Linked DNA regions of Homo sapiens: all the other regions are linked to region 1. The links are contacts of gene promoters, found by promoter capture Hi-C in blood cells and fetal thymus (Javierre and others, 2016). All regions are on one chromosome and are shown on one strand. The core of a region is centred on a gene start or on the middle of the fragment in contact, and the rest is flanking DNA. Distances in the headings are between cores, read along the strand shown.

The links. The method cuts DNA at HindIII sites, captures the fragments that hold promoters and counts their contacts. A CHiCAGO score of 5 or more calls a contact.
Region 2: a contact is called between a fragment that was not itself captured here and the fragment with the promoter of PAX6-AS1 in region 1, in 1 of 17 cell types (erythroblasts). The highest score is 6.1, in erythroblasts.
Region 3: a contact is called between a fragment that was not itself captured here and the fragment with the promoter of PAX6-AS1 in region 1, in 1 of 17 cell types (megakaryocytes). The highest score is 5.8, in megakaryocytes.
Region 4: a contact is called between a fragment that was not itself captured here and the fragment with the promoter of PAX6-AS1 in region 1, in 1 of 17 cell types (megakaryocytes). The highest score is 6.8, in megakaryocytes.
Region 5: a contact is called between a fragment that was not itself captured here and the fragment with the promoter of PAX6-AS1 in region 1, in 4 of 17 cell types (megakaryocytes, endothelial precursors, erythroblasts and 1 more). The highest score is 8.4, in megakaryocytes.
Region 6: a contact is called between a fragment that was not itself captured here and the fragment with the promoter of PAX6-AS1 in region 1, in 1 of 17 cell types (megakaryocytes). The highest score is 7.2, in megakaryocytes.
Region 7: a fragment that was not itself captured here is called in contact with the fragment with the promoter of PAX6-AS1 in region 1 in 2 of 17 cell types (megakaryocytes and M2 macrophages); the score reaches 6.1 in megakaryocytes.

What each region holds. Positions count from the first base shown.
Region 1 is chr11:31,814,401-31,817,854 of GRCh38, reverse strand. It overlaps PAX6-AS1 (PAX6 antisense RNA 1), which reads right to left and starts at 1,289. Exons shown (of 3, transcript NR_033971.1): 1 at 1,216-1,289. It also overlaps a transcript of PAX6 not described here. RefSeq lists a promoter at 1-52, an enhancer at 1,499-2,260 and a silencer at 3,224-3,454. The HindIII fragment of the contact is 5,434 bases long and covers 1-3,454 here.
Region 2 is chr11:31,476,428-31,479,933 of GRCh38, reverse strand. The region is part of intron 1 of IMMP1L (inner mitochondrial membrane peptidase subunit 1); the gene reads left to right. Among named protein-coding and RNA genes, the nearest start is that of IMMP1L, 31 kb to the left of the region's middle. RefSeq lists an enhancer at 1,041-2,611. The HindIII fragment of the contact is 3,598 bases long and covers 47-3,506 here.
Region 3 is chr11:31,495,368-31,498,697 of GRCh38, reverse strand. All of the region lies in intron 1 of IMMP1L (inner mitochondrial membrane peptidase subunit 1), which reads left to right. Among named protein-coding and RNA genes, the nearest start is that of IMMP1L, 13 kb to the left of the region's middle. The HindIII fragment of the contact is 8,362 bases long and covers 1-3,330 here.
Region 4 is chr11:31,456,098-31,459,492 of GRCh38, reverse strand. It overlaps IMMP1L (inner mitochondrial membrane peptidase subunit 1), which reads left to right. Exons shown (of 6, transcript NM_001304274.2): 4 at 3,107-3,233. Among named protein-coding and RNA genes, the nearest start is that of IMMP1L, 52 kb to the left of the region's middle. The HindIII fragment of the contact is 213 bases long and covers 1,215-1,427 here.
Region 5 is chr11:31,511,999-31,515,157 of GRCh38, reverse strand. All of the region lies in intron 1 of ELP4 (elongator acetyltransferase complex subunit 4), which reads right to left. Among named protein-coding and RNA genes, the nearest start is that of ELP4, 3.8 kb to the right of the region's middle. The HindIII fragment of the contact is 930 bases long and covers 1,204-2,133 here.
Region 6 is chr11:31,336,418-31,339,626 of GRCh38, reverse strand. All of the region lies in intron 1 of DCDC1 (doublecortin domain containing 1), which reads left to right. Among named protein-coding and RNA genes, the nearest start is that of DCDC1, 32 kb to the left of the region's middle. The HindIII fragment of the contact is 1,062 bases long and covers 830-1,891 here.
Region 7 is chr11:31,409,415-31,412,684 of GRCh38, reverse strand. The region is part of intron 2 of DNAJC24 (DnaJ heat shock protein family (Hsp40) member C24); the gene reads right to left. Among named protein-coding and RNA genes, the nearest start is that of DNAJC24, 41 kb to the right of the region's middle. The HindIII fragment of the contact is 3,368 bases long and covers 222-3,270 here.

The DNA.
Region 1 (3,454 bases), core at 40-2,539:
AACCGGCGCTGCCAGGCTCACCTGCCTCCCCGCCCTCCGCTCCCAGGTAACCGCCCGGGCTCCGGCCCCGGCCCGGCTCGGGGCCCGCGGGGCCTCTCCGCTGCCAGCGACTGCTGTCCCCAAATCAAAGCCCGCCCCAAGTGGCCCCGGGGCTTGATTTTTGCTTTTAAAAGGAGGCATACAAAGATGGAAGCGAGTTACTGAGGGAGGGATAGGAAGGGGGGTGGAGGAGGGACTTGTCTTTGCCGAGTGTGCTCTTCTGCAAAAGTAGCAAAATGTTCCACTCCTAAGAGTGGACTTCCAGTCCGGCCCTGAGCTGGGAGTAGGGGGCGGGAGTCTGCTGCTGCTGTCTGCTAAAGCCACTCGCGACCGCGAAAAATGCAGGAGGTGGGGACGCACTTTGCATCCAGACCTCCTCTGCATCGCAGTTCACGACATCCACGCTTGGGAAAGTCCGTACCCGCGCCTGGAGCGCTTAAAGACACCCTGCCGCGGGTCGGGCGAGGTGCAGCAGAAGTTTCCCGCGGTTGCAAAGTGCAGATGGCTGGACCGCAACAAAGTCTAGAGATGGGGTTCGTTTCTCAGAAAGACGCGGAGTACGAAAGAATGCGGCCGACAGAGCTGGGCAGCGCGTAAAGCTCCCAGCGTGTGATTTGAGCTTCACTTCGGAAGACCTAATAATTAGCGATTCTCACTGAGCTAGAACGCGGGCTCCGGTTACTGCGGGCGCTGCGCTGGCTGCCTCGGCGGGAAGCGCGCGGGCGCCATGGGAGCCGGGCCGCCAAGCCCGGGAAAGAGAAGCGCCCACCACCCTGCGGCCCTTGGAGGGCCAGAGCCGGGGCCCGGAAGTGTCCCCTTAGTGAGTCAGGGAAGGGACGACCCAAACTTAGACTAACTTGTGGTTCAGCCGGGCGAAAGTCCTGGGAGCCCGGCCCTAAAAGCAGCTGGAGACGCCCAGGCCGGCTTAGGCGGGGCACCCAAGAACCCCGCCCGGGAGTTTGGGGCGGCCTCTGGGCCAGGCCCCGGCTAGCCCCCAACCCCCACTCCCACTCGCGCTCCTGCGCCCCCTTTCTAGGTCTTCTGGGAGCACCTTCGGAGCTCAGTCACCTGTGACAGGTGTTGGGACCTCCGCCCGACTCCGAGCGGTGGCGCCCCCTGCTCACCTCACCTGGAAACGGGGGACGAGCGCAGTGGCAGTCCGGCCGCACGCCTTACCTGGGCCGGGATCCTCTCCTCCGCGGGTTCCTCTCCCTGGAGCTGGGCGGCGAGCAGGTCGCCTGCTTCGCAGTGGGAAGTGGACCTTCTCCTCCAGTCATAAATCAAACCCAGCCATCCTCGGGCCTCCTCCCTCATTAGAGATGTTTATTGGAGATCGTGTTTATTCGGCTGTCACGGCGAGAAAACGCGGTGACATAATTACCTCTGACCAGAGTCCTCGCTCCGCGCCCAGGGCGAGCCGAGGACCTCCTCTGTCGCCTTCTCATGCCCGTGCCCTTCGTGATCGGAGGGCGCCCGTGATAGGCTTGTCTTTTTTTCCTCAGACCCTCTCATAGAATTTGGATGACTGGAATTACTATTCAGATTTCCCCAGGGCCCGGAGTTTATTTATTTATTTTAGAATTGGAAAGGAAAACCGAAGGGAACCCAACGCCCCTCCGGGGCAGAAGGGGGCAGCGCGCGCGAGGCGGAAGGACAGTCACTCTCGCTGCACAAACTTTCCCGCGGGCCGCGCCGCGCGTGCAGGGGCTGGACGCCACCCGGCGCCAGAGCCGGGCCTGAGGAGCGGGGTCTGGCCGGGAACGAGGGCTGCCAGCCTGGGTGGTGTCATTTGTTGCTTCATTTTTCATTCCCTTTCCTCTCGTGAGGAATCAGAGGCATCGGGCCGCGCGGGCTGAGAATTCTTAAATTCTCCCCGGCCGCATTCGGCTGAGCCAACCCGCAGTTCCTGTCAGCCCCTCTGTCCCCCGGGCAGCGGTTTTCCCCGCTAGCCAGGTTTGGAAGTCACCCTCTGTGAGACTGGGTTAGGAAGTGACGAAAAGCGCCGAATTGTTTTCAAATTGAAAATACTTTTTTTTTTTTTTTTGGAGATAGCGCTGACAAATATATGGGATCCCGGCTTTTGATCCCTGGCTGCCGCCTCTGTTCTCCTGTCGCTAATAAAACTCGCATTGAGCCCCTTAGTGCCTTGATTAACAGGCAGATTAACTCTTACTGGGGTTGGGAACAGCTTGTCCTAATCAATGTCATTTTAAAAGCCCGTCAGGATGCGCTTAGCTTCGGTTCCCTGGATGCTTGAGCGAGCCAGCCATGACATTTGCTCCCTCCCCCTCCCCAGCCTCAAATCCCCCAGTAAAGCCCCCAGTTCCCGCCTGCCTGTTCCCAGGTCTACAACGGGACAAATCGCAGGACCGGGTCGTTGGCCTTTAGAATAGGCAGCGGTTTAGAGAGGGGATATCCAGGGAGAAGGGACTGAGGTGGCCTTGACTTGCTTGCTTTTCCTTTGAAGCTGAACTCTTGCCTCTTGGGGGCAGAGGTTACAGGGAAAAGAGAGATGGGGGGATCGTCACAGGGTGATGAAATGGAAAGCAAACTTTTCTAGGAACCCTATTTGCAAAAATCGGAGAGTGCCGCTGATTTCAGTTGTCCTACATGTCAGGAGTTTTAAACCTAACTCCTATCTGGACAACAGCATGGAGGGACTGGGAGGCAAAGCCTTGGGAGTCTGACCCGCTGGGCTGCTAGGAATCCCTTTGCTGGGAGACTCCACTGGACAATGTTATTTTAAAGGTATTTTGGGGGTGGGCAGGGAGAAGACAGAGAGAGAAAGAGAGAGAGAGAGAGAGAGAGAGAGAGAGAGAGAGAGACAGGCTGGCCTCCCAGAGCGAACGGAAGAGGACTGAGGACTGAACCCAGGGAGCCCCTAGCACTGGCCATTTGGCAGGAGGCGAGGAAGGGCGAGGGCACCGCGGCTTCCCCCCAAGCCGAGCAGTGGCCACAGCCTGAAGGTGCCACGGGGCGGCTCTGGGATCTTCTTGGCTTTTCTAGGCTCTGGGCTCGGCGAGGCTGCCGGGTTAGCGGGAACCGGCAGGTTGCTGGAGAAAGGAGAGGGACAAAGGCCTGGAAGTGGGGGAGGCACCAGGGACTGGGCGGCCGGGATGGGAGCCTTTGCCTTTAGGGCTCACTGGACCCGTTTGCCAGCTCCGCGGACAAGGGATCCCACCTTCCCAGGGTCTGCAAAAAGAGAGACGTTTGGGGCACTACAAAGTGACGCAGGTGTCTGCCAAGACTTTCCTTCTCCAAAAAATGCCAGTCTTCACCCTTTCCAGCGCGCCGGCGCTGCGCCTCTGCTTGACCGGGGAAAGAGAGAGTTTGGAGGTGTCAGAACTGTCAGAACTCCGGATGGGAGGCTCTTGGTTCTGAAGCTGGGAGCTGGAGGCACTTCCCCCCAGAAGTG
Region 2 (3,506 bases), core at 596-3,095, 340 kb after region 1:
AAGTAGAAGCTAAAATGACAGGATTTTATACTTTCTTTACTAAGCTTATCTACCAGATTTGACACTGGAATGTTTGTTCTTCCATAATTAACCCTCTGCTTCAGTATTTTTATTAGTTGCACCATTTCATTTGGCTTAGGAACATAGGAAAATATAAGACCTGCTAAAGTGGTGCTTTCCATTAGAAACATAATATGAATCACATAATCAGCTATAACCAAAATATTTTCAATACGTAATCAATATAAACATTAACAAAATACTTTCCCTCTTTTGTATTAAGTCTTCAGAGTCCAATGTGTGTTTAATACTTATAGTACATCTCAATTTGGACTAGTCATCTTTTAAGTGGCCTCATAAGGCTAGTGGCCACCTTATTGAACAGTATAGTTCTAAAGTATTACACAGTTTTAACAAAATATCATAACAAAAATATGTACTTTTTACATTTCTGATTTTTCTAGTAATATCCTAGTCAAGGTAACCAAAGAATATTCATGTGCTATGTAGTTGAAATTACATAAAGTTTTTTATAGCACTAATACCATTGGTTTATATCTTTCTGTGTGATACATAAAATCCAATTGTGTCACCTGACTTTTGAGTACTTATCAGACATTGTACAGATATGTTTAAAGAGATTGTGATGATGACGTGATAATGACTAATGTAATAAATGTGGAGTGTTCCTCAAAAATTGTCGGCAAATCAAACTTGTCAAGTAAGCCATATTGCAAGTATACTTAGGAGTTTAGTTTTACAAGAATTCCATCGCAAATCTTAGTACTTTTTTTTTATATAAAACTTACAACGTCTTCACATCCTTAGATTTATTCTGGACAGATGTTTGTGTAAATGTATATGAATCAGTCTTTTCATATAAATTTGCTTAGATAAGCTGGTATAGCTGTTATGTCATGGGTGGAAGAAGCTGATTATAAAATATCATTTTCCTAATTTCTCTAGAATTCTATACATTTAAAATGTTCTGTACATATTTAAATGTGAGGAGAGATTTCTTCACTGATAACTATTTTAAAAACATATAGTTAAGAATTATAAAACCTTGAATTACAATTTATTTGACTTGATTCAAATATTTTAAAGTATAGTTATAAAATGATCAAGGAAATTTATATAAAATACTGTAGGCATACATATTTTATTTAAAATGGTCATACATAATTGACTTTGCACAAGTATGAGTTAGAGAAAACCATATTTATGAAATCTCTGAGTTTTTCACATTTTCTAAATTTCGAGGGCTATGACCTAATTTTATGTAATATCATTTTTAGTTATTAGCCAATGCCTGCTGTATTCTTGGACTCACATTTTTATTGACTACTCCCTGTGACTCCTGCATTTAAAGTGTTGGCACAAAATGTTAAACTATTCTTTAAACAATACCTCTAGTTTCTTGGAGATGATAAATCCGTCCATTGATTTCCTAATTTTATTATGTACACAGTCAATTGTAATCCAAGATTACAGCAAACAAGATGTTAATTTCTAGACATAATCTATGTACATTTCAATTACAGAGCATGATTGTTATAGAAGCACAGAATAAAAAAGAATAACATTTGTGCTATCCTCACAGGAGCTGTCAATAAAAGATGTAATAGGGGATTTAGAAATCTGGAAATGGCCAACTAATTTATGTGAATCTATTTTATTTCAGCTAGAAAGACCAAGCTCTTTTTCGTCTGCACTGCATATTGCAGAGCACAGGCTGTCTATACAAAACCAGGCGGCTGCATATGGATAGTCCCCTGATATCATTCACTTGCTGTGTAATCTTATTATGCAAAGTTCTAATCTTCACCTAGAATGAATGCCTCTGGGTCAGAATATAGTCATATCAGGGTTTTTGAGGTCATGTTTTGTGATCCTTAGCTTATTCTTCTAAGTAGGGCTGGGATTTAAAGGGTATTCCCCAGATACTAGCAGAGATAGACAGCAGAATCTGCTGCCTTTTTGGAAGACAAGACCAACATGAGGTCCCTGGTAGGATTAAACTTGATTTGTAGCTGTAGGATTTTTTAACAGATGTATTATTGGACAGGGAATAGGGGGCCAACCAGCACAGCAAAACTGAATCACGACTGACATTCTCAGGGAGTTTGCTGCCGGCTAAAACAGCAGCTGCATGTGGATTTGACTTCTTTCAGGTGAAGCGACTTCCAGTCATTTGGAAAGGATGGGATGAAAAGGAACCTTGGTGATAATTTTGATGTCTGCAAGATTTAGTACCAGTGTAATGGGATTATCGGTAACACCTTCACTGCAGAAAAAGCCACCTGGCGCTATAACTGGCAGCAACTGAGAACTAATCCTTTCCCATCTCTTGGATGTCATTCATGAAGCTCAAAGCTATTTCTGCCCTGCTAACTGTGATTAATTTTATAAACAACAACAACAAAAAATCAGGTCATCAAGGCAAAGAATATGCTCTTTATTATTTATAATATGTAACCTTATGTTAAGCTATATGACTTAAAATTATGCAAGACATATACAAACTAAGCTATATGATTCAAAATTTATTAAGCTATTGAAATAGAAAAGTTGATCAATGATGTCTTGGTTTTTTTAATTGAATGGCAAATTATTTACTATTGGTAACAATTCATATTTCAGATCAAATATTAATTTAAATACTTTTATATTCTTTTGGCTATAGAGCCACTATGAAATTAATCAAAATGTCTAGCTGTAAGGAATTGAAATAATATGTTTCGTCATATGTTTTACCTGTTTTTGACTGCTTCAGTTGCTACTGATGAAATGTTTTTGGTGAATAAAACATAATTTGAAATATATAGACACCTATATTTTTTGTAATGAAGGTAATGCTAGCTGAAACTGCTGATGAAAGGGCTTTTGGTGAAATATATGATTTTAATATATAAAAGTATAGAGTAAATAGGAATACTGAATGACTTATTTTTAAAAATCAGTGATTCTTAGTAACTTTTCCTTTAGATGGAGGTTTAGTTGTGTGCTTAAAAATCAGTGAGTTAGTTAATTGATTTTGTTAGCTTTTATTTCAACTAAAAACTTTATCAAGTACTTTGGCTGGAGGTGTTAATTATTTTAATATTTTTTTCTAACACGATCCAATATAAACTGAGAGAAAATGAAGTGAAATTATCCCATCAGTCACCCAAACAGTATGCAACGTAACTGCCAAGACTAGAAAAGATAATTAGTGTTGTCAGTGTTATGATCTTAGAGTACTTAATTTTAAAATATTTATTCATAGAACTTGGATTTTATCTCATAGCTCTTTTGTTTAGTAGCTGTATCTTTTAAAAAATAAATTATACAGCCTCAGTCTAAATGTTTTTAAACTTTAACATTTTAACTAAATATAGGTGACTAAAGTATTTTCTTGAAATTATAAAAATAATTAAAATATAATCAATTTTATACCTGATGCACACCATTAATGTACTACCACCTCTGTTTATGTGTAGTATCTTTTATTCTTTTCCATATAA
Region 3 (3,330 bases), core at 692-3,191, 320 kb after region 1:
TACAGAATTCATACTCTTATCCACTATTTTCCACTTCAGTCCAAATACAGGCTTAGTTTCCTCCTCAGGGTAGCTTTTTATGTAGCCAGTTTATGGATATTAGCATAAAACATGAAGCATATTTGCTCTGCTAAAATAGGTATATATTCAGAGTGATTAATATGGTGAGAAAAAGTGATGGGAAAGCAATTGAGGTAGTAACTGGAATATAGGTAGCTGGGAGGTGAAAGATTTTGAGTTTCATAAGACTTGTTTTAATCCTGTCAAAAAAAAATTAGACCTCTTTGTTTCTCCAGGGCATAGAAATTTCAGTTTCAACCCAGATTAAAGAACTTTATAACAGTGTTGTCCAGTGGTGAAACAGAATCCTTTGTAATTTAAAAATATTTCCTTCTTAAAACCTTTAGAATTTTAATTTTATAGTTCTGCTTATTATATTTTTTATTTCCCAAAGTGAAAGGTTCAAAGAATAACATTAAAGGTCATTTGGTATTACAATTTTTCCATTAGTCAAAATTAAAGATTTGAAAATAATTTTATAGTCCATTTGGTATTCTAAGGTTGGATTTTTTAAGAATATAAAGCAAATTATGTTTTTTCTATTAACATTTCCTAAATCAACTCACATGAAAATTAATAGATTATCATCATACATGACGATCGTTTTTCTCTCACTGAGCATTGGAATATGTTCACTTTACTACTTATCAGTAGCCCAGTTTTGATTTTCTAACTGAAGTATTTGTGTCTGCCCTCTGAACTGGCTCAAGGTTTTGAGCCCTTTAAAAAAATTTGTGTATGTGTGATAAAAATATACGTAACATAAAATTCACTACTTTCATCATTTTTAAGTATAAGTGAAGTCACATTAAGAGTACTTACAATGTTGTGTAATCATTGCCACTATTTCTAAAACTTTTTCATCATTCAAGAAGAAATATTGTACCCCGCCGGGTGCAGTGGCTCACGCCTGTAATCCCAACACTTTGGCAGGCGGATCACGAGGTCAAGAGATCGAGACCATACTGGCTAACATGCTGAAACCCCGTCTCTACTAAAAATAGAAAAATTAGCTGGGCGTGGTAGCGCGTGCCTCTAGTCCCAGCTACTTGGGAGGCTGAGGCAGGAGAATTGCTTGAACCCAGGAGGCGGAGGTTGCGGTGAGCGGAGATCGCACCACTGCACTCCAGTCTGGCGACAGAGCGAGACTCCCATCTCAAAAAAAAAAAAAAAAAAAGAAAAGAAATATTGTACCCAAGAAGCAGTAACTTGTTATTCTCTCTTGTTTCAACCACTAATAACCTGTATTCTACTCTCAGTGAATTTGCCAACTTATTATAAGCACCTCATATAAGTGGAATCATACTATATTCTTGTTAATATTTGCATAATATTTTTCACTTAGCATAATGTTTTTCAAAGTTCATGTATTTTGTATCATATATTAAAACTTCATTTTTTTATGGCTGAATAATCTATTGCAGATGCTCTTTGACTTATGATGGAGTTATGTCCTGATAAACCCAATTTAAGTTGAAAATACCATAAGTTGAAAATGTATTTAATACCCTGATAAACCCATTATAAGGTTGAAAATCATAAGTGAAACCATTGCTAAGTCAGGGACCATCTGTGTGTGTATATATATATAATATGTAATACATATATGTAACATGTGCAATCTTATATAAGATTATAGTATATGATATAAGATTATCATATATAATAGATGATATATATGATATACGTAATAGATGATATATCATTGTATATAATATATAAGATTGTATTATATATGATATAAGATCATATATATCAGATATATATAAGATTATATAATATACTCTTAGATATATAAAATTATAGATTATATAATGTATAATATATGTTATATATAGGATTATCTATTATAATATATGATTATCCTATATCAGATTACATATGTAAATTATAACATATTAACATCATTTAGCATTAGGATGTACCCTAAAATTTAAAGTATAATAATAATAAAATTTTAAAAAGTTATAACATATATATAAGATAACATATTTATAATATACACACACACACACACACACATATATCACAGTTTGTTTATCCATTCATCTGTTGATAGACTCTTGGGTTGTTTCTACCTTTGGCTATTGTAAATAGTGCTACAGTGAACATTGGCATAGAAGTATCTGTTTGAATCTCTGTTTTCATTTCCTTTGGGTATATACCATACAATGGAATTGCTGGATTATATGAAAATTCTATGATTAACTTTTTAAGGTATCACCAAACTGTTTTCCACATTGGCTGTACCATTTTGCATTCCCACCAGGAGTGCGGAAGGGTTACAATTTCACCACATCCTTAGCAACATTTGTTATTTTCTGTTTTTTTGATAATAGTCATCCTAATGCATATGATGTGATATCTTATTGTGGTTTTGATATGCATTTCCCTAATGACTAGGGATGTTTAACATCTTTTCATGTGCTTATTGGCCATTTGTATACCTTGTCTGGAGAGATGTCTTTTGAAAACCTTTGCCGGTTTTGAATTGAGTAATGGCTTTGTTTTTTTTTTTTTTGCGGGTTTTTGAGTTATAGGAGTTCTTTATATATTCTGGACCGTGACCCTTAATTAGATGTATGATATGCAAATACTTTCTCCTTGTGATAGTATTTTTTGTTGCTCAAAAGTTTTTAATTTGAGAAAGTCTAGTTTATATATTTTTATTTCTTTTGTGACCTTTGTTTTTGTTGCCATATTCAATGAATCATGGCCAATCAAGAGTTGTGTAGTTTTAGCTCTTCCATTTAGGTTTTTGATCTATTTTGAGTTAATTTTATATGGTGTAAGACAAAAGTCCAACTTCATTCTTTTTTATGTTGATATCTAGTTTTCTCAATACCATGTGTTGAAAAGACTGCCTTTTCCCCATTGAATGGTCTTGGCACCCTTGTCAAAAATCATTTGACCATTTATGTCAATGCTATTTCTGTGCTCTTTATTCTATTCCATTGGTCTATAGATCTGTCATTATGCCAGTACCACGTTTTTGCTTACTATAACTTTGTACTAAATTTTGACTCAGGGCTTAAAATAATAATATCAACATTTGAAATCAGCGTGTAAGTCCTTTCGCCATGAGTGTAAGTTTCCCGAGGCCTTCCCAGCCCTGCAGAACTGTGAGTCAACTAAACCTCTTTTCTTTATAAATTATCCAGTCTCAGGCAGTTCTTTGTGCATGCCTGAGGCTAGCATGAGAATGGACTAATACAGTAAATTGGTACTGAGGGAGAGGGGCACTGCTATAAGGATACCTGAAAATGTGGA
Region 4 (3,395 bases), core at 72-2,571, 360 kb after region 1:
TATTTTCTAAAGAGCACCTCTCTGATACCCTAAAATTTTGAGTCCATTTGTTTTTTATAATTCTGAAAAAAATCTATGCCTGCTTTCATTTCAGTAAACTACAGATTTGATTCCCTTGAGCTAGTGTTTAGTTTATGGCATATTAAGTAGGTTTAGGCACTTCTCTTTCACTATTCACCTTTGCTATAACCTATTTCACATTACTGAAAATTGTTAAGAATACATTTCTTCACATTTACTGATCTTTCACCAGCCTTAGATTCTGCAGATAGAAACTCTCTTGGTCAACCTGTATGGTTTGGCATGCTCCCTAGGTAATTCTTCTTCAAATCTTTTACCCATAACAACTTCTATATACTTAATTGTAGATACAGGAATTATAAAATAAAACTTATATAATAGATTGTGTTGTTGCTCCCTTTTCTTTTTAACTTATATCAAATTATCCTTATATAGCCTTTGAATTAACTGGAGACCTAGCCCCACTGTAGCATGAAACCAAGCATCTGTGTTCCATGCCAGTGACATAATTTTATTCACAATAATCCTTGGGCATCCTGAATGAGGAGATGAACTTGTTGGCTGAATAGTTTTTGAATACACAGCTTGATATTTTTAAAAAAATTACTCGTTGCATTCAGATAAGTGAAACAAATAACTACATTCAGTAAATGAATTCAGATTCTTTGAAGATCTTATTTTGTACCCTATTCATCCAGGTTACAGGACAGCTCAAAATCTGGCATTTATGAGATATACCAAAGTAACTTTTAGAGCCAAGATAGCCAGCTGGTAACTTTTACTTAAGAAATATTACTGTCCTGAGTATTCTCTTTCTTTTACCCACAGCACAGAACTCAAGATTTCAGGGGAATCTTTGACCCCTGGCAAGGTGTCCTGTTGTTAGCTGCCTGTTTCTAAATGTAAAATAACCTTCCATTTAGGCAAGAATAAAAGTTTGCATATCTAGTATCTAAAGCACATGGATGTCTCTTCAGTCAACTGCACAGAACACTCAACCTTGAGACAGTCAGATTTTTACTATTGCTTATTCTTTCAACAAATAGTAGTGAGCACCTAATTTATAAGATGTACCATACATTATAGAGAATGTTAAGATTAATGAGATAATTGACACTAGTTTTCAAAAGCTTACTGTGTAGTAGAATAATAAGGATGTTTATAAATATAAATGAGAAAATTTTTAATAAGCTTCCTTTTAAAACTATTTGAAGGAGTTAAGAATCCAGCCGATATGTATTTTGATCTAAACGCTATGCATATATCTAGTTAGACTACCAGAAATAAAGTTTATTTATACTACTTTCTACAAAACAGCACGACTGAATTATGATTTCTATGTTGCCATTCGAGTGCAAAGTTTGTTTTAAGGGTCATATTGATTATTTGATCAAAGAACTTAAGCTTCATTAGACACCCATGGAAAAACGTCTCTTCCTCCAAAGCTACCCAAAATCAACTTTGATGGCGTGTTACAATCTTTGCAAATTTGTTCATCTGAACAGATCCACTGACATGGTTCTAGTTGGTTAGAAAGAAAATACCTTTATTCTGTTTTCAAAAGAAGGCAACACTGTGTTGCCTCCAAATTATAGAATGTAACGATTTGCTACCTTTCAACTCTTACCAAGAATAGCCTCAAGAGATCATCATTGTAAATACTATTTCTGCACTCTGTGTAAAATTTCTGATAAAGATGGTATCTTTTATTCTCTTATATAAGAAAGTTTCTTGTGAATTTCTCTTTGATTTAGTTGTTAGGGAAAATTTTGTCTTACCTCCCAAGCTAAATGTTATTTTATTAATTAATGATTTCCATGTAACTGGTCTTAATTTCTTCTGACTTGGCTCCCAAAGAGTTTAGAACCCATTTTAATGCTTCTATAGAGCAGTTATTAGGTTTCTGATTTCTTCATAATTTTCCTTTTATTCTTATGACTTTTAATATTATTTTGACATATGCTTCATTAAACTATTTCTGGAACTAGGTACAATTAATAAGCAAATATGTTAAATCCTTTTAAACGTGTGTTAGTCAACAGAATTCACATATTGCTCGTTTTATGCAGAAAGAGTATTGTGTTCTGTTTGACTGTGGTCATTAGTCCTACGTTCTATCTTTCTTCCTTTTCACTTTTTAGGATCTTTCTTATTTTTTATTACCAGATAGATTGTCAGTTCTTCCATAAATCATGACTTCTGTATGTAATCAGACCCTTATTGGTTTTATATGTTTGATATCTCATTTTATTTTTCAGAGTGTATATTTAGGCAGCTTTTAGCATTTTATTTTGTTGTATCTTTTGATTTTTTTTCTCAAATATAAGTTCTTTTGATATGGGTTATAGGACTTACATGCTATCATTCCTCAATTATTTGAGTTCTAGGGAAACATGGATGATGCTTTTACCTTTTTAGTGTGCTCTAGAGTCAATCAGTGCTACTGGCTGGACCGCAATATTTATTTACTTAATTTGTTAGTATTTATATAGAATTGTGTGGAGGGTTTTTTTTTCTTTTTTTGGTTCACTTGGGGTTTTTCTTGGTTTGTTTGTTTTGTGTGTGTGGTTTTTTTTTTTTTTTTTTTTTTTTTTTGGAGACATGGTCTCAGTCTGTTGCCCATGGTGGCACGATCTTAGCCTCACTGCAACCGTGAACTCCTGGCTTCAAGCAATCCTCTTGCCGTAGCCTCCCAAAGTGCTGAGATTATAGTTGTGAGCCACTGTACCCGGCCTATGTAGAATTGTTTTTCCACAATTTTGGTTCTAAGAATTTGGACACAGGAGTAAAGCATACTGGATACAATGCAAAAGATAATTCTTGTAGAATTATCTGAAAGTTTAGAATCTTCTGAAATTATCAGAAATTTTAGATAGCCTTTTTATCACTCTTATTGTTGGATTCTCACCTAAAGTATTCAGTCACAAAGGTTCTCAAAGCCAGTAAATGTGTGGAAGAGTAAGTATATGAGAGGATAAAGGTTATGGCTTTGTTTAAGTTGTCTTATAAAAGTATTAAAGCAGTGCCATGCATGTGTTTTTGCTTAATAAATAATACAGACATTTCTTTGACTTTTCCCCCTCAGAGGTGACATTGTGATTGCAAAAAGCCCAAGTGATCCAAAATCAAATATTTGTAAAAGAGTAATTGGTTTGGAAGGAGACAAAATCCTCACCACTAGTCCATCAGATTTCTTTAAAAGCCATAGTTATGTAAGTAACATTTCAATTATGTTATTTTTGGTGTCATAATTGATTAACATTAACTGAGTGCTGACAAAAGAAAATAATGTTTATTCATATTTTGAATGTAAGAAAAAAGGGCATCCAGTAGAATTTAAATGTTTATATCAAGAACAATTCAGCCGTTATATT
Region 5 (3,159 bases), core at 419-2,918, 300 kb after region 1:
ATAAGATGTAACTCATTAACTAATTTAAACTTATTAACTAAAGCTTTTAAAAATCAAGCTTTTACTCTATGTGTTTTAAGAGGAATAATTTGGACCTATACATATATATATATATATATATATACACACACACACACACACACACACACACACACATGCATACAGCAGCAAAATTTCTCTATTCTTCTAAACTTGAGTTTAGTGAGACATGATCTCAAAACATTTCCACAAGATACCTTTGTATAAGGTATTTTGATGTCTCTTACTTGATAAATGGAAGGTCTAGCTGTATTTTAACTTAAAAGTTTGAATGTTTGTAGCCATGCTCCAACCAAAAAATAAATAAATAAAAAGCTAAAACAACCAACCAATCACAACAGAGTATCCTGACATATTCTTTGAAGGCTGGCTTTTAATTTACTTTTAAATTTAGTAATCCATTAGTAATTTTATCTAATTCCAAAAGCAACATAGACCTCACACTAATAGTTACCAATTAAAACTGAAATATCTTTTCCCAATACAATGTATTACAGATAAGTAATAGGGTAAGCAAACAATCATCTTATTTTTATAATGAAAACAGGCAAGAAAGTAGTAAAACGGCCTTGTTTACTATTTCCTCTCCCCTTTCATCCTAACTTAGAAAAATTACCAACACACTTTCTAAGTCACTAAGCAAAATAAATTCTTCTTTTTTTGAGATGGGGTCTCACTGTCACCCAGGCTGGAGTATAGTGGTGTGATCACTGCTCACTGCAGACTTGAACTCCCCAGGCTCAGGGCTTCTCCCCCATCAGCCTCCTGAGTAGCTGGGACTACAGGTGTGCACCACCAAGCTTGGGTGATTTTTGTATTTTCTGAAGAGCCAGGGTCTCTCTATGTTGCCCAGGCTTGTCTCAAACTCCCAGGCTCAAGCAATCCACCCATCTTGGCTTCCCAAAGTGCTGGGATTATAAGTGTGAGCTACCACACCTGGCCAGCAAATAAACTCTTGTTTTTACTTCTAGATGTCTTTAAGATGTATACTTATTTCCATCTTACTAAAAATAAAAGTAGAGTACTTTATGTACACAAAAGAATACAAGAGGTTGAAAGGTTAAAGAATCATGACTACTCTTCAATAATTATGACACAATTATTGGCTGGGCAAACATGAGAATCAAAATAAAGGTTTGAAAGGTTAAAGATACTCAGCAAGCTTGATATTTTAGACAATTAATTTCATCAAGATTTCACATATTTTAAAAATAGGCATTTTTTCTTAAAACCAGAAAAGATATTTAATACTTAAGAAATAATATTAGAAAATTTAAGATCTTGCAAATGCCAGTATCTTCCACGATTTTCAAAATCATAAGACAACGAAAGGGCTTTTGTTGTTATTTCAATTCATGCAGTAGTAAGACAATTACATTAGTACTATTAATATTTTAAAGGAACAACATTCAATCCCCATACTCTCCCCAATAGAAACCTCTGACTAAGCTATACATTTTGGGTAAATGAGGTCAAATTAATACACTAGAATATGAAAGCCTTTCTTCAATGTTAGAGAAAGTAAAAGGGAAAAGAAATGAAAGTCAAGAAAGATAACAGTGATTTATGCCAGTCCTTTCCAGACCTCTATATAAAGGAATAATTTTGCTTAAAATTACAAAAAAGTATTTCTGGGAAAATGCAATGTAAAAAACAAGTTCATATTCTTTCCTTGGTTCATAGTAATAGCCTTAACTACTTAATTAATGCTGGATCTCAAATTTAATTGCAGTTATTTTGATAACAACTCTACTTTTTCTTCCCCAAGCATTATAAAACATAGTGACTACTCTTCATTATGACACAATTATTAGCTGGACAAACATGAGAATCAAAATAAAGCTAGGAACTGTGAATAGTTCTATAGATTAAGTCACATGAAATAATTTTACATAGCAATAAAAAATACATTTTTCTTAAATATACAGCTAATTATATTGGTTGGTAAAATATCATAACCAAGATTGTGTTAAATATGTAGTCCAAGCTCAATGTATATTATCCCATGCTACACATTAACATAATAAAGGAAATAAGCCCACTAGTGTTTACTTTTTGACATCAATGTTAAAAAATGGCTGTTACCATTAAGCTTCTTTCAGGGTACTCTTCCTAGACTATTATTTACCTCAAATCCCTATCTGACATTCCCTTCACTATCAAAATTTAACAGCACAGAGGTCAAATCTGCAGTTACCCTTCCTTTAAGCATTTTTCTGGAGGATGAAGTTGTGGTTAATTCTTCCAGGTTAGATATATGGTTCTATGATGGAGTATATACCTTTTACAGGGAATGGGGTTGGGTGGGCGGGGCGGGGGAGGGGGGGCGGAGGGCAGGGGGCATTTCTGCCAGAATTCTTTAGTTGCTATAATCTTTCTTTGGAAACCCCTGGAAGAGAAATGGAGTACCTCTTCAATCGATGGAATATCTATCTTTCCTTTTCCAAAATATAAGTGTTATTTACATACAGTGTCCTCAAATAACAATATAAATATCCCAGAAGGGCAAGGTTGAGAACATGGGTTAGATAATCTGGGAATTTAAACAATTTTAATGTAGCTAACTTGGGAAATGTATATCAATATCTCATAATACAATTAGGTTGTCAGAACAAAAACATTATATATTAGGTCATTTGAAAAATGCAGATATTGAAAATTTTCAAATTCATGAAATGCTTTGGAATAAGTAATGGAATTATCAGTGTATCATCAAATGACTAACAATTAGCATGTATGATGCCTTTCAAATATATTTTGCATCCATGTTTAAAATTACAATGACGTCACGGTGGCAGTAGTAAAATGTCACCGTACTACACGGAAGCTATAATATTTACTTGTTACACAGTAACCACATAATATATTCAGGCAATAATCACAATATTACAGTATAGTTTTACCGTTCTAACACCATAACATCCTATTATCATTACCTTTTGTCACAATATAGTCATATTAGGCTTGTCGCAACTTGAGTCAAATAACATTTTCAAGTAATAACATAGTCTAAACTGCTTATACAGAAAATCAGATACAAAAATGTCATTAAGAGGTTAAAACTAAAATACTTCTGGACATATTTATTTTTCAAGATGTAGTCAATTCTATTATAACCTC
Region 6 (3,209 bases), core at 111-2,610, 480 kb after region 1:
ACTATGAATGCAAAGTGAACAGGACAGACTAGTCTCAGCTCTCATAAAATTTTTTTTAACTATAATATTATTGGAGAGTTAATTCAGGTATTACTAGCATATATTGAATGAGGCAAGGAAACTGATCAATGTATACATTTGTTTCCATAGTATCTTATTCTGGGCTGCCATAACAAAATACCTTAGGCTGAATCGTATACAAACAATAGAAATTTATTCCTCACAGTTCTGGAAGCTAGGATGTCTAAGATCAAGGCACCAGCAGTGTCTGGTGAGTGCCTGCTTCCTTATTGATAATGTGCCCTTGCGTTGTAAAAAGAGTCCACCCTTATGACTTAATTGCCTCCCTAAAGGCTCTGCCTCATAATAACATCACATTGGGGATTAAGTTTCAACTTAGAAATTTGGCAGGGGGTGGAGGGTGGCCACAAACATTCCAACCATAGCACATAGGAAAATTCATTCTTAATTTCAGGCAACCAACTGACTTAAACATGAACTTTGGGAAATGGAAAAAAGAAGTCTATTTCATTATACCAAGTTGGCTTCTAGTTTCTAAATCATCAACAGTGTAGGAGCAGTGTGAGCAAAGGTCTAGAGACTGGAAATAAATAGCATGTACAAGATGTTAAGAAAAGTTTACATTGAGGATGGGTAAGAAAAAGAGGTTTATTTCTTACTCATATAAAAGTTTATTTCTTACTTACAATGTAAAGTTTACATTGAGGACGGGTAAGAAAAAAAGGCTTATTTCTTACTCATATAAAAGTCTGGAGGGCTAGTATAATGCTCTAAGATCTTCTATTTTGTTGCTGTGCTGTGAGAAGCTTCCATTCCCAAAGTCACAGATGGTGCATTCATGGCTATTCCAGCTTTAAGCCATGATCACATTCCAGATATCAGGAAGGAAGAAAAGAAGGCTGAAAATTATGCCCCATACCCCCTTCTTTGGTGACAGTTCCCAGAAATCACATATGCCACTTCTGCTTACATTCTGCTGACCAGAATTTAGTCATGTGGTCAAGTGGCAACATGTAGATGGAAAAAAGGCTTCAGCTAGACACTGTAAAAGGGAAGAGATTCTAGTGAACATCTAACAGTTTACTCCACAATCCAACCTTTTAGCCACCAAAATATCTTTGGTACGCCCTTCTTCCTGTAGATAGAACATAACCACCTATTCTTGATCATACATGCCTGTTCTAGCTTTTAATTATGTATGTGAACCCCCAAATATGATCCATTTGAATATGGCTCAGAATCTAGGCTGTTGGGTTAATGCACTGTCCTTTTCATTAAGTCCAGGTGGTCTAGTAACCTATAAACTAAAAGTTAATGCATTTGCCACATCACACCTAACAGAATGGATGTATATTTGGAAAGGAGGAGAATAGGATTAACACAAGAGTCACTGGTTTATAGTGGTTATCAATTCTGCTAGGCTAGGTAGGAATTGTAAAAGTTCCTTTCTCTAGCAATGGAGCAATTTCCTTGATTAGTTCATCAGAGTACTCCTAATTCTGCCTTTTGGAAAGGGTCTTCCTTGTACATTGTACTTCCTGACCACATCTGATGTGGTCAATGGAGAATTTGCTGTTCTGGAGTGCTGAACAGATCTGCAGCCTGCTTCCTGCTGATACAAATGTGGGCATGAGATTTGAATACAGGTCAGTCATGTTTTTCGGCCAGCTTTGTGGTTTCTTCAGTAATTTAACACTGCTCCTTCCTCTTCCCCTAAATTAGTAGACTTCCAGTCTATAGCTAATCCCATGTTCACAGCCAAAGATCACGTCTAGACATTATTTTTAAGCCTGAGTACTGGTTTTTTATTCCCTGACTCTGTGCTTCAACATAAAGATGATTCCTTTGAGGTCACCTAACACAATAAGCTTGGGTTGAAAAACAGCAACCTTAATCTGATCTTTGACAGCTAGGCTAGTTTGATTGATTGATTGATTGATTGATTGAGACAGGGTCTCACTCACCCAGGCAGGAGTGCAGGGGCATGATCATGGCTCACTGCAGCCTCAATCTCCTGGGCTCAAGCAATCTTCCTGCCTCAGCCTCCCAAGTAGCTAGGACTAGAGGTGTGTGCAATCATACCCAGTTAAGTTACTTTTTGTAGAGTCAGGGTCTCACTGTGTTTTCCAGACTGGTCTCAAACTCCCGGACTCAAGCAGTCCTTCCTCTTCAGCCTCCCACAGTGTCGGGATTACAGGCGTGAGCCATCACACCCAACCAGGGAAGAATTCTTAAAGAAAAGTGTTGTTAAAAAGCTTAGAACCACAGTCTCATCTTATGTAGCAATCACTGTAGAGTGCTACTTTTTATAGTTTCAGTTTGGGATACACAAACAGTTGAATTCTTCAACCCTGCAAGGCCCAAAGTCCCAAATTACTAGACTCTGAGTTAAATTTATATTTTAAGCCATTCTAGTGTTATCCTTATTTCTTTGCTCTAAGTAAATACCATGTATTTTAGGTTTTTGAAAGCAATTTACTTCAAGAGAATGTCAGGTATTTCAGGATTAGGTTTAACTGCAAGTAACAAAGATCCAAATTAATACTGTTTTGAACAAACTAGGTGTTTCTTACTCATGTAAAAGTCTGGAGGTAGATAGTCCAGGGTTGGTATGGTACTCCATGTTGTCAGAGGTTCAGACTCCTTCAATCTTCCCTCAGTCCTGGCTTTCATTTTCAGCATCTCATCAAAGTTAAAGATGACCAATCCAGGACTAGCCATTGTTTTCATTCTAGGTAGCAGAAGGAAGGAAAAAGAAGGGTACACTCACTTGCATGGACCATCTCCACTAACATGCCATTGGCCATAACATGTTCATATGGTCCTGCCCAGCTACAAGGAAAACTGGAAAATACAGTCTTTATTTTAGGCAGCCATATGTCTCAGTTAAAAATCAGGGATTCTAGTTTTGTAGAAGGAACAAGGAATGGATATTGGCAGACAATTGGCAGTCTCTGCCACAAAGTTTATGCAATTATTAGAAAATACTAACATATGGACACATTAGGACATTGCAATACAATTATTTCAATGCATTTGGTGAATTCTTAACAAAGAATTCAAAATTGTCTTTTTAAAAAAATCATATTGCTAAACACTCCATGAGCTTACTAGTTCTCGCAAAGTCCTAACAATGTCCTGCAAGGTCCTGTGTTGTGTCCACCTCCTCCATACCCTTTCTAACCTCA
Region 7 (3,270 bases), core at 656-3,155, 410 kb after region 1:
TAAGCACTGGAGAAAAGGAAACTAAGGCTTTACTGTTTCATCTTCTTTGCCCATGATTTATCAAATGATGCTCATAAAAATTATTTCTATACTGAGGTTTTGGCAATCTCTAAAGTTGGGATATTAAGGCAATATCCCTAAGCCAAAGTGGAGTTGGCTGCATTAAAGTTCTCTAGCTGACCCATTCCTCTAACACTACACTAAGAATTGTCTAACAAGCTTAGTATAAGTAAATGTTATTATATGTAACATATTCAAATATGCCAGGATACATTTATGATACGTTTACAGGGGAAAACTCTTAATTCAGTATGTCACAAGCATTAAGGCCCTGGAGAACTTGTTCTAAATTTGTATCTATAAAGTAGGAGTAAAGATCAAAAGGTAGGTAATTTGTCATGGGCCAATATAGGAAGTCTGCTTGGTACAATGAATAGAAGAGGTTAGGCCTGATCATGCACCAATCTGACCCAGAAAGCCCTATAAAACCAGGAATTAATTCCTGGCTGCCCTAAACTAAAAAATATTATTAAATTTTATTATGAGTCACAAATCAGTTCTATGATAGTCAAAGTACAATTCAATCTCTTTCCCTAATTTGGTATTTTCCTGATTATTAATTGAAATAAGGTGCTCGCCATCTGAGGCTTTAAGTCTATTCAGATTCCATGACATTTATTTAATGGGTACATTCCATTAAAAAATGACACTTATAGCAAGAAAATAAGTATATCATTTGGGATGCTTAAAGCCTTGGTCCAATGTGTTTTGACAGCAACTTGCAGAGCAAAGTGAAGGTCTAAGAAAAGGAGTAACTGTCTGTGGTAGGCTGATAATGGCCCCCAAATATATAAAGTCCCAATATCTGGTACCTGTAAATGTTACTTTATTTGGAAAATGGGAGTTCACAGATATGATTACGTTGTAGTTCATGAAATGGGAAGATTTTGCTGGATTATCTGGTTGGGCTCTAAATGTATTCAAAGTGTTCTTAGAAGAAAGAGGCAGAGAAAGAGCTGACACACAGAAGAGACGGTGATGTGAAGACAGTGGAGAGAGAGAGATCTGAAATGCTGCCCTTGAAGACTGGAGTGAAGTGGCCACAAGCCAAGGAATGCCTGCAGCCTCCAGAAGCTGGAAAAGACAAGCAATGGATTCTCCACCAGATCCTCCAGAGGGAGTGCAGCGCTGCCAACACTTTGAACTCAGCCCAGTTATAATTATTTTGGACTTCTCCAGAACTATAAAAGAATAAATATTTGAAACCACCCAAGTTTCTGACAGTTTGTTTTTACTGCTATGAGAAATTAAAACCCAGTCCAAATATATTTATGATTTAAAATTGGAATGCAAGACACTAGAATGTTTTAAGAAGTTTCAATTACAAGGGCTACTCATAAAATGGTGTCATTACACACATTCTTAAAAATATGGTATTTTTCTCTATTGCCAATGGGAAAACAAGCCCCTAATCCTAGGTTTAAAGACTTTCCGATCTCAAAGTCTATGTTAATTTTGTTCCTACTATTTCTAAATCTGACCTATCCTGTGGGAGGTCGACTCATTATGATCCTAAAAGACCACAGTCATTTTCCTTCTGTTGTCAAGTCTTATTTTTTTTCTTGCCCTTAATTTCTTTTAATCCCCACTAGCCAAAGACCTTCCTACTCTTGAGAGCCCAAAGCTAGTCCCACTTCATTCATTCACCTATCAAATAAAAGACAGATGTAATCTAAAGCATTAATTAATATATCAGTTTAGGGAAAATGGACAAACTGATATATTAATACAATCCCTATCAAAATTTCAGCAGTAATCAAGACTGTAGTACTAGCATAAAGATAGCCTAGAAACAGACCATACATATATGGTCAACTGAGTTTCAACAAGGCTGCCACAGCAATTCAATGAGGAAAGGTAAGTATATAACAAATTGTTTCGAAACAACTGGATATCCCTGTGGGAGAAAAAATAACCTCAATCCTTCTAATTCCATAAACCAAACTTAATTCAGAATGAATCATACACATAAAAGTAATCCATAAAGGCAACAAGAGAATATCTTTGCCTCTTAGGGTAGGCACACAGTGCTTTGACAGAAAATAAAAAGCATAAACTGTGTAACACAAAACTGATAAACTGAACTTCATCAAATTTTAAAACCTTCTGCTCATCAAAGATACCACTAAGGAAATGAATAAACAAGCCACAGACTGAGAGAAAATACTGGCTGCATATATTTCTAACAAAGGACTTGTATCAGAATACATGAATAAAACCTATAAATCAATGATAAAAAGACAAAACTAATTAAAAACCAGATGAATAAAATTGAACAGATACTTTTTCAAAGAAAACTGATGAACAGACAGTGTGCACATGAACTTTTTTATTAGTTATTAGGAAATAAACTTTTTATTAGTTATTAGGAAAATGCAAATTAAAATCACAATGAGATATTACTACATATCTAAAAGAATGGCTAAAATAAAAATGACTGGCTGGGTGTGGTGGTGGCTCATGCCTGTAATCCCAGCACTTTGGGAGGCCAAGGTGGGCAGATCACCTGAGGTCAGGAGTTTGAGACTAGCCTGACCACCATGGTGAAACCCAGTTTTACTAAAAATACAAAAATTAGCCAGGTGTGGTGGCACGCACCAGTAGTCCCAGCTACCCAGGAGGCGAGGCACAAGAATTGCTTAAACTGGGGAGGTAGAGGTTGCAGTGAGCGGAGATGATGCCACTGCACTCCAGCCTAAATGACACAGCAAGCCTCTGTCTCAAAAAAAAAAAAAAGAAAAAGAAAAAAAAATGCTGATAACACCAAGTGTTGATAAGATATGAAATAACCAGAATTCTCATATACTGCTGACAGGAAACAATTTGGCAATTGCTTATAAAGTTACATATACATTTACTCCATGATCAATAAAAATGAAAATCACACATCCACGAAAAGATTCATAGAAGAATAGATTAACAGTCTTATTCATAACAGTCTTACTAAAACACTGGAACCATAAATGTCTATCAACTGCAGAATAGGTAAATACATTTTATTTAAATCCATAGAAGAGAAATATTCCTCAACAATTAAAAAAGAACAAATTATGACACACTCAATAACACAAATGAGTATCTAAAATATATGTTAAGTAAAAGAAGCAAGAACAAAAAGTACATACTGTATGATTACATGAACATGAAATCCCAATTTAGGTACATTTAATCTGTGGCGACAGAAACCAAAAAGTTGGTTTCCAGGTGAGA